Linked DNA regions of Homo sapiens: region 2 is linked to region 1. Evidence: promoter capture Hi-C in human tissues and cell types (Jung and others, 2019). All regions are on one chromosome and are shown on one strand. The core of a region is centred on a gene start or on the middle of the fragment in contact, and the rest is flanking DNA. Distances in the headings are between cores, read along the strand shown.

The links. Contacts are between HindIII fragments. The study calls those that stand out against the background at their distance.
Region 2: a fragment that was not itself captured here is called in contact with the fragment with the promoter of PRL in region 1 in 2 of the 25 tissues and cell types used here (heart left ventricle and stomach).

The regions. Positions count from the first base shown.
Region 1 is chr6:22,292,834-22,298,498 of GRCh38, forward strand. PRL (prolactin) reads right to left here and starts at 4,203. Exons shown (of 5, transcript NM_000948.6): 1 at 4,122-4,203; 2 at 1,576-1,751. The coding sequence starts at 4,149. The HindIII fragment of the contact is 8,347 bases long and covers 1-5,665 here.
Region 2 is chr6:22,697,411-22,702,800 of GRCh38, forward strand. All of the region lies in intron 1 of LINC03005 (long intergenic non-protein coding RNA 3005), which reads right to left. Among named protein-coding and RNA genes, the nearest start is that of LINC03005, 18 kb to the right of the region's middle. The HindIII fragment of the contact is 4,306 bases long and covers 1-3,892 here.

The DNA of each region.
Region 1 (5,665 bases), core at 2,953-5,452:
CATTTTTTCATCTAGTTTTCATAAATATCAATGTTTTTCCTTCTTTGCAATTCCCTTGTTGTTTACTTTTACCATTCACACAAGTCACACGAGTTGCTATTTGGAAAGCAAATGCTAAAAATAGCAAAAATATGCAACATTAAATGTTGTATTGAGAATCATCTTTCTTCAGCATTTGAGCCAAATGCCACAGTGCAAATGTATTTACATGTATTCATTTAATCTCTTATTTACTGTGTGCCCAAACTGATAGACTTCTCTTAATAGGCATTATAAAATCATAACTTTTCTCTAAAAAGTTTCTCTGAGTCCACACACCTATACCTTACCAAGTTCATGATAGAAACGGAACACAACTTTTTTTTAAATTATGACAAAATAATTCAGAAACACAGGGCACACAATTTTAGGAAATATAAACAATGGACTGAGGATAAGAACAGAATAAAAAATGAGCTGACACATTGACAGGAAAGACTAGTCTTCAGCAAAACTTATAAAAGTCTAAAGAAATTACTAGGAAGATTTGGAAGACAAAAGATGGCCAGTCAAAAATGGAGGATGAAAGCGAAATCAGAGAGTAAAAATAATTTTATAAATGTATGTTTATTCTCTGTGGAGGCCCTTGATTTATTAAAGCACTAATCTATTGTCTGCTCCTTGATTGACCTAGAAGAGTTAACCTATGATTTCCAAAATAGGTTATTCAGAAATAGAGTACATATTTCTGAAAAAGAAAAGAAAGGGAGGAAGGAAGGAAGGAGGGGAGGAAGGAAGGGAGGAGGGAAGGAGGGAAGGAAGGAAGGAAGGAAGGAAGGAAGGAAGGAAGGAAGGAAGGAGGGAAGGAAGGAAAAAAGGAAGGAAGGAAGGAAAGAAGGAAGGAAGGAGGGAACAAGGGAGGGAGGGAGGGGAAGCAAGGAAGGAAGGAAGGGGAATGGAAGGGAAGGGAAGAAGGAAGGAAGGAGGGAAGGAAGGAAGGAAGGAAGGGAGGAAAAGAAAGAAAAAAGCACTGGTTTCCAATTCTAAACTAGCCCTTTATTGTAATTATAAACCCATATACTGAAATCTCAGAGAAATGATTTCTAGCATTTTGGGGTTTTTGAAAAGTTATTATTTGTATATTTTCCCCACCATGGATTCAGCTCAGTTTAATTCTATTCAATCCACCCAATTTGCTGCAGTGCAGTTCTTCATTATTGGATATCTATTCCGTGCTAAGTAAAGAATGCCTGTGGAGTCTGACCTCTACATTCAAGAACAAGAAATCAACACTCTTCCTTCTCCTCAGCCCCACCTAAACATGCTTTAGGTCAGGTGTTTAAATTTTTTTATTTTTAAAAAATAAAGTGAATTAAAGAAAAAATTTAAGTCATTACATTCTTTGAGAATCTTTGAGATTTCATGGCACTGTCCCTTTCTTCTTGTTCCACATCTTATGAGCTGGTGTCTTCTTTCACATGTTAAAATGTATCGTTTGAAATTTGGCTCGGGAGGTTTTCTAGGTTAACATGTAGCAGAGCCCAGTAGTTCATGTGAAGGCTCCTTCAGGGAGGAAGCCAGAAGCATGGTACTTACGAATTCGCTGAACATTTCTGAGGAGAGGTTATGGATGTAGTGGGACAGGACGACGGCGCGGTCAAACAGGTCTCGAAGGGTCACCTGGCATCGGGCAGCCCCGCCGGGACAGATGGGCAAGGGGGCCACGCTCTGGCACAGGAGCAGGTTTGACACCAGCAGCAGCAGGAGGGACCCTGCTTAAATAAGAACGCGAGCCACTCTGAGATGATTTATTCCACGGAGGTTTTCAGAAGTAATCCTGCCGAGGAAAGCCTTATTGCTCCCCACTGCCCTCAGCTGCCTGATTTGCTACTGTAATGGCTGGGATGGGGGAAGAACAAACGCCTTCCACTGTGTAAATGTAGATATATAATTATGTTTGCACAGATATATAGTTTGAGAAGTGGGTTACCTCCTGCATTTTTGTACGTTTCCCAGAAGTGCTTCTGTACTTTCCAAACATTTGGAGCTTAAATTAATTCTGAGCTAGGGTGTTTGGATCATTCTCTTAAGATAGTTTAATGTCTTGGGAGTTTCTGCAGATTTTCAGCAGTCAGGCTGCCCAGCACTTTGTAATTTTTTTTTTAACTAGGTGTGTCTGATAATTTACATTGTAGACACTGATATAACAAAAACAGTACAGTCGATCCTTTCGATTTATCATCCTGCCTGATAAGAATAAACACACGATTGTTTGATTGCTAATACTGAGTTTGAAAAGAATTCTAACATAAAAATAATGCTGTAGTTTAGATCTGCTAACTCGTAATAGTCCCATGCATGTGTTTGACACTTCGCCAAAAACATTAAATTTTTTTTATATTTGAGCTTCATAATAACCTTGTGAGATACACTGGGCCTTTGTAATTATCATCAAATTATACTGATGAAACAGATGGCTTAGGGAGGTTAAGTGATTTTCCCCAAGTCGTATCATTAGTGGGTGAGAGAGGCATGATGCCAATACTGTGGTCTTTGCACGTCGTCTTGTCACATCGCGTACACCTGTGGGCTGTCAATCTGCATCTGTGTAATGGGGGCCGCATGAGTAGCCGTGATGGCTCAGTGTTTACATAGGTTGTTGCTGTCACTTTTAAAGAATAACAAGTTCTTTGCCTTTGATTGATTACATCACAACAGAGGCCCCAGAAAGCTTGATTTTCTCCACTTTTCCTGCTCTAATTACAAAACACTCTGATCTTTGCTGAAGGTTTTCAAAGCTTTGTCATCAATTTGCTATCTCAGCAAATGGACAGTTACAGTCCTATATATATCAATAATTTATACTTTCAAAAGGAAAGAAACGATAGATAGCTACCAAATTAAAATCACTTGTTAACTTCAGTGGCATTACCCCAAAAGAATGCCCAATATAAAACTGTGTTTATCACAAAACTTAAGTCCTTCAAAACCTTTAAGAAATGCAATCAGAAATGCCCAAGATAAAACTAGGCAAATGCTAAAGTTTAGTTTGTGAAAAAGTACCTAAACCTAAACACTTAAAAATACCTAAAAAATTGCTTAGTGTAGGAAGTGACTAAATCTGTTAGTTGTAAAATAAAATTTTTGTTTGAGATGATTCCTATTATAGACTTTTAATTTTTCAAAAACATGATTCTTCCAAAAAGTTTATTTTATGCATACTATAATCATATGACGAAACCAAATGTATATTTTATCTGTATGTGTAAATAAAATGTGCTTTGTAGATAGAGGAATTGGAATAGCAGGTCTAGGAAATTCACAACTGGATAGATGTTCTGTAACTCTGAGTACATTTATCTGCACATTTAGCATGGAAAGGATTTTTAAAGCCCAAAACGAGATAAAATAGACACATGTTTTTGTTCTTCATTTAATTAGAAACACATTTTATGGTTGTTACTAATTTATTTTCCTTGCAAATGTCAACCAAGAAAGTAAAGGTGATTAGTTATTACTAGGCAGTCTGTTTTTCCTTTTGAAATGTCATTTGGCTTGAACCAAATTGACAAAGAATAGGAAAGACAATTCTGTTGTTAGTGTCTATTTTATGGCTTCACAATTGAAAGTTTCATCAGGTTGATTCAAGTTGGCCAATCCACATTAGAGGCCTGATAACCAGAAAATGTTACTTTGTCCCTTTGAGAGTTGTGGCAAATTGGACCCACAGACTCTTTGAGTCTTATTCTAGTCCAGAGTTTCTCAATCTTGATATTATTGGCATTTTGAGTTGAATAATTCCTTGTTCTGGGGGCTGTCCCGTGCATTGAAGGATGTTCAGTAGCATCTCTCATCACTATCCATTAGATACCAATAGCACTTTTCCCTCACTTCCCCACCTCAGTTAAGACAACCCAAAACATCTCCCGACATTGCCAAATGCCTCTGAGAGAGGATTCCCCTGTTTGAGAACCATTGTTCTGTTCTATGGTGCCCTTGTAAAATTGCTTTCTAGAGGAAACATAAGATTGTGCTTCTAAACCTTGTAAACCTGCAAGCTCTTGTTATTAGTTAAAATTTCACATTAATCCCCCCACAGGAGTGTTGATACAACCAACAACGCAGTGAGTTGTCACACATACCTTTCCATGGCGATCCTTTGATGTTCATGTTCGTGATCGTTGCAGGAAACACACTTCACCAGAGAAGATCTGGAAGTCTCACGGTTTTCTCTTTCCCAGATATTGGCTTTATAAACCTTTGATATCTTCATGAATATAATGAATCAGGCATTCGTTTCCCTTTTCCTGGTCATCTATTTCCGTCATTGAGATTACCCCCATAATTTCAAACATCAAATGGTATTTTATTTCTTATTCATATTCAGGAAGACATACTGGCCAGAAATGAACATTCTAGGAAGGATTTTGATTAATTAGGCCAAAAGGAAATGAGAGAAATGATGAAGGTGAGATCTGAGACTAGATTGGTTTGGAGGATCTATAAAACTACAGAAGTCATTTACTTTAAAATTTATCTTATTTCTCTAAAGTTTGTTGAATATATAGGATTATATTTCACTTAGGTAACAATCTCATGTATTATCAGTTATCAAGTTTCTTCCTCAAGATTGCTAGGTAAAGATTTTAAAATTTTTACACTAAATACCAAGAGATATAGAATAAGGATTGAGAAATCAGGATTTTCAGTCCCCTGTTACACTGTCATTAAATTTCCTTCATTTTGTTGCTTTTTACATTTTGTTTTATCTTTTTGAAATACACATTTTGTTTTGTCTTTTTAAAAATACATGTGTTTTGTCTTTTTAAAAATAGCGTATCTGTATGGTACTTTGAATGTACATCTTCATCTGTTTATTTCTTTTGATTTTAACATATGTGTTAAGTGGTATTATTCTCTCCAGTTTACAGATGAAGAAACAGAAGCTTGGAGAGACTAAAGGTAAAGAATATGAAAGAAGTAGTTCAGTGCAAAAGTAATTGAGGTTTTGGGCTTTACTTTTAAATGGTAAAAACTGCAGTCACTTGCGCACCAGCCTAATAATTCTATAGTTGAGTTAAATGAAGGAACAATTATTACTTCACGGAAAATCAGGAGTCATATGAGGAAGGCTGGGAAATGAATTCTCTTGTAAACATCCTGTGGACCCACTTCTAAGACAAACAAGCTATAACCCCTGATTTAAGAGTTTATTTTGGGGAAGTGATGCAGTAGTTTTCCAGGGCAAACACACATGTGTGTGCACACACACAGACACACTTACACCCATCATTCTGGTATACCATGTAATAAACTGAAATTCTAGCCAGTAATTTCCACTCTTTTCAAGGATAGCAGTGTGTAAACTGTTATTAACTTATGATCTCTCTACCTTCTCTGACCCTGAGCCACTCTGAGGCCAAGGTGACAAAAATTCATCTTTCATGGGCTTAAAAATTCCATTCACCTTTTGGAAATTTCCTAAATGAAATGACTATAATGAATAAGAACTAAGTTTTATTGATGACTTTCTCTAATTTTTAAGTCCATGCATCTAAAGCAGCCTGTGACCTTTAGTTTCAAATTTGCTGTCTCTTACAATAGACTGATGAATGAGGTAATTTAAAAAATAGTCTTCCTATGGCATTTACTTTTTCCTTAGTTCCTAGAGCCACATATGTGCTTT
Region 2 (5,390 bases), core at 490-2,989, 400 kb after region 1:
TTGAATTCTCTTGTCTAATGTCATAATAAGCAATTATGAGCATCTTCTCAGCATTCAAATTCGGGTAATGGTGAAGCCCTAGAGAGGCATTAGATGCTGGCAGACTCTGGCTGATGGAATGTGCATATGCTCAATGGTTCCCTAAAGGCAGAATGGGGAGCTAGATGCCAGGGCAGATTGCCCTCAGTATTTAGGGTAGACACTACCTTCAATTATGACTTGTGTTTTATAATCAGGGCAGTTATAATAATATGTGTGTTCATTCTGGAGAACTCATTGTGGCAACAGAACGAACAGCATTTTCTGTCTATTTCCCATTTTCATTGGAGAATAGCAAATGAATTTCTTCTTTCAACTTCACATTTTCCTGATGAAGTCTGGGAAAATATTGGTTGCTACTATATGTTATTATTTCATTTTAAGTTAAATCTCCTTTTGTCGACTCTGGGAAAGGTAGCAGATTTTATATTATCAGTGGAACACTTTGCAGTGATAATTAGATAAATAAACACTTGCCACCCTAAGGAAGTAGTGCCTCTTAATTATTAGAAATTTTCCCTCCAAACAAATTAGTTACTAAATTGTAGTACTCTCTTCTGCTGAGCCTTTGCAGCAAAATGTGATGTCCTCTGTCTTTTTTTCACAAAACCAGATGACTGTTAAGGGATATTACTGCTTGACAATATATGATTCAGTAAAATAATTATCAAGTGACATTTATACATATTGTAAAATCTTTACATTGGAGATCTTTGGAAGAAAGTACCTTTCATATGTATCAGCCTAGATAGTACAAGAAACATAGGATGTTGGACCAAGTTAAAGAGCTCTGAAAAAATATCAGTTTTTTTTTAACTGTGAAGAAAAACATAGAGAAGTAGGGATGTTCTGCAGGAATTATTGACATTATTTTTATATATGCATAATTTTTACCTTTTTCAGTTCCAAAAACTATTTAAAAGCATATAATACACATAGAAAAGTAAACTATTATAGATACACTAAATGTGTAGACCAAGCCCTAAAGCTTCAATACTTAAAGATGTTACATCTATTATGTGGTCCATTTTTCCCCCGGCAAAATCAATGTAGTTATTTCATTTGTCTCAACAACCAAATTACCCTGATGCATGGTTGATCTGATCCATGATGGATCGGATTCCAGCATCAATTATTGGAATGGTCCACATTCTGATGTGGCTATCCCATGCAGATGTTGTCAAAGTGCCCTGTGAACCAAACCTCAGTGGCATCTCAAATAGATTGCTTTGATGCATACACATCAGAAATCCTTTCTGACTCTTCAGATCATCAAGGTAAGCTATTTTAAGAATGTTTTACCTAGCAATGACTATTTTCTCATTTGGTATCTTACCTTATTCAGATATTATAGTCTCTCTAGGTTTACAAAGACAGTTGCCAATAAAAGGACTAGCAACTGTTTTTGCAACATTTCCTTCCTTTATAAAATCAGATGTAGGAAATTTCATAGCATGTGGACAGAGAAATGAATAAAAATATATAAGCAGTCCCAAACACATTACATTGAAATTATTTTTGAATTACAAAAAAAAAAAGAAGGTTTACTTTAGTTTCAAATTAGCACAGAATTCATGGTAACATTTATTTATTGAATTAGGCTTAAGAATAGGGTGTAAGGATTACAAATAAACTAATCAACAACAAACAATCAAGTAATGACGGGAGACTGGACACAGTTAAAGAGTTGTCTGGAGTTCAGAAGGCCTGCTTTGCGCATCTGCTTTCATAGTTCTGATTCCCTCTGTAATGACTGCGGCCCTCTGTTTCCATCTGATATCGAACGCTAGTAACACTGAGAAGGAAGCAGAAAACAATGCTCCCAAGTGCGAGAAAGAGTGAGTTTTTTCATGCTTTTAGCAATGTGACCTTAGGTATTGATTTATAGCCTGCCGCAGCACCCCAGAGCAAAAGGGAACATTGGTAATTAAGTCAGTATCTGCACTTTCTAAAATAGTGCTGACTTGCCACAAAGAGAGCCCCTTTATTTTTCCTCTCTGTCTCCCAGTGAATGCAGATGCAGGCACTGACCTCTGACCTTTCTCCAAATTCTCTAGCTGCAGCTGTTATTTTTCTTTCTTGGGACCTTTAGCTGCTGATAGACTGGTAAGATTCCTTAAATTGTGTGTGTGACTTTCTTTTAAGCAAACATGAAACAATGTGTACCTCAAGCTTTACTTATAAAATATATCTTTATTGAGCTCAGAATGAAGGTAAATACTTTTACTTGGGCACCTATTAGAGATTTGCCAGATAAGTACCTATGCCCATTGACCATATTCAGAATGCACAGACATTTTTTGGAAGAATTTTATATTTAAACAGAACTTTCCATTGTAAAACTCCCAAGCTTGTAAAGTGTATTGAGTCAGAAATATCGTTGTATTCCATTAGAGTCATTACTGAAATAGGGCCACAAAAGGTAACAGCAATAAAACCAAATACCTTAAGGTATATATGCAAATTATACGCTAATATATGGTAATATGAGTACCATGTTCAGTGGCCATAAAAAATACTAAATATGGCTAATTAAAGGTAGGTACTTTGCTGTGTTTTATACTTCACAGCAATGTGAGAGAGGTAGACTATTATGATAATGACAGCATTGCTTGCTTTGGGGATCACATCCAACATTTTAACACTATTTCTTATTCTGGTGTATTTGTCTATTTCACTGAATGGAATCACTTTTTCTGTTCTCCACCCTAGGTCTTAGATTCATGAAGTTAGTGAAAAACTAAGTAACAAATTGAGTCTTTAGCCTCAAGGAAAACAAATACTTTTCTCCCTAGAAACTTCGGAAGTGTGGTACCCACCTAACGCTCCTCTGAAAATAAGTGCCCCCGACTGGGATAATGGGGTTCAGAAGTCAGCCACACTGAAAATCTGGGTAAAAGGAGCCAAGAATTCTCAGCATACTTGGGAAATGCAAATAATATTTCTCCCAGAAATGCACTTCAATATCAAGGATTTTTTCTTACAGTGAACTCAACAGAATATAATTTTCTTTTTAATTCTAAAAAAAAAATCCTAAGGGAATGAAAAAAAAGCAACAACATTCATAAAAGGACATAAAGTGAATGTGAAATCTACCTGCTTGAAAAATATCTGATTTTCCTTATTTAACTAAATAAGTCATGTGTGTGTATTCAATATGCTAATAGGACTTTAGCCCCCTAAAATACTTTTGCCCCATTATACTAAATACATACTTTATCAGTAGATGCTTGCCTGAAAATTACCTGAATTAGGCGAAAAATCCACTTGAAACCAATTTACCAACTTACTCATGAAATTTATGTTGTAGTTTCTTTCCCACAGCTGCTGTAACACATTACTACAAACTTAGTAGCTTCAAACAACACACATTTCTTATCTCAGACACCACTTTGGAGGTCAGAAATTCAACACAGATCTCACTGGCAAAACTCAAGGTGTCGGCAGGGCTTCAGTCCTTTCTAGAGGCCGTAGAGGATAATTCGGGCCCTTGCTTTTTCCACCTTCTAGGACCCACCTGTATTCCTGGGCTTGTGGCCCCTTCCTCTGTCTTCCAAGACAGCAAGAGCCTGTTGAGTTCCTCTGAGGGACTCTGACCTTCTCTTCTGCCTCTCTCTTTCACGTCTAAGGAGCATAGTGATTACATTGTCTCCCCTAGATAATTTGAGATAATCTCCCTATTCTTAAAAATCAGGTGATTAGCAACCTTCATTCTATCTGCAATTCCCATGTGCCATGTGGTGCAACATATTCACTTGCTGTGGGGATTAGGATATGGAAATTTTTGGAGGTAGGGGAATGTGCATTATTCTACCTGCCACCCTGGCACATGTGTATCAGGAGTGGATTCAGATATGATCAAGCTATGTCCTACCTTCCATGATTTCATAGCCTATCCCAGGAAATGGACATGCAAACAAATACCTGTCATACAGTTTAATGAGTAGTAATAATAGAAGCATCTACATGGTCCACTGGTAAAGGAAGAAGTGCCAAATTTAACTTTGTGAATCATAAACAATTTAAAAGAAAACCAGAGAATTTACTGAAATTTTGAAGAATGATAAAATTTCTGCAAAGATGTCCGGTGGATGGGGATTCAAGGAAAAGATAAAAGTACAGGGTACAGGACAGTAGTATGAGGAGCCTAGAGGTTGGAAGGCTGAGCAGAAGCAAGGATTGATAGTTCATTCATTTTTATATTGTGTTTGATAAGAAACCATGTATAGTTTTTGAACAGTATAGGCATCATATGCAGTATGTGTGTTAGGAAGGTTATATTATACTGACAATGTAGAGGGGAGTTTATAGAGAAACTTACCTGGCATTGAGCACCTTACCAAGGAGATGATTGCAATCCTCCAGGAAAAAAGAATGGTACTGACCTAAACTGAGTCAGGGGCAGTGAGGATGGAGGGGGAGAGATGGATTTGAGAGCAATGGAAGGATTTGCTGAGTGATTGGATATAAAGCCTAGGAGGGAAAATCAGTCAAAGATCCCTTCTGGTTCCTGCCTGGGGTAACTAGTTAGATGGAAATAGCATTAACCAGGATAAGAGTTACAAGAGGTTAAGTAGTGAAGGAGAAAAAGAAAATTGCTTCATCCTGGATATAACGACTTAAAGTGCTTGTGGGAGGATGTTGAGAATCCATCTTTACAACAATGAAAGTGAAGAGATCTGGGTTATTTTGTTGATTTTAAGCCTAGAGAAAATCCCCCAAATTGTAATCTTAGTCCAGTTGAATGAAGAGGTTCTTTGGGAATGGGATGACATGTACAGAAGGGGTCCATGAACAAGGATGGGAAAGGAGACATGGCACAGAGCATGATGAATAATGTCATGAGGGAGAAAGCCAAGGAATGCACAAAAATGTTAAGGATAACTAAAGCACTTTCTAATGTACATTTAGAACAAAGAGAAGGTAGGTGAAAGGCAGGCTGTATATAATATTTGAAAATGACACTGAGCAAGCGAAGATTACAGTGGTTTTTCTTCTTTCTTCAAGAGAATGATCCTCAGATTAAAAATGGGTATAACAAACATGGTAAAGAGGAAATTGGATCCAAGGAGATCCAAAGAGAGAGATACTTAAATAACATCTGTTTTTTTTAAATGTGTTCCTGTCTTTAGACTGAGATTAGGGGGTCCAGGATACCAAAATAATTTCCAGATGTTATCACAAGCATCATTACTCATAATCTCTGAGTAGTTATTGTACTAGGCCATTATTGCATTGCTACAAAGAAACACCTGAGACTGGGTAATTTATAAAGAAAAGAGGCTTAATCGGCTCATGGTTCTGCAGGCTGTGCAGGAGGTATAGTGTCATCTGCTTCTGGGTAGGCTTTA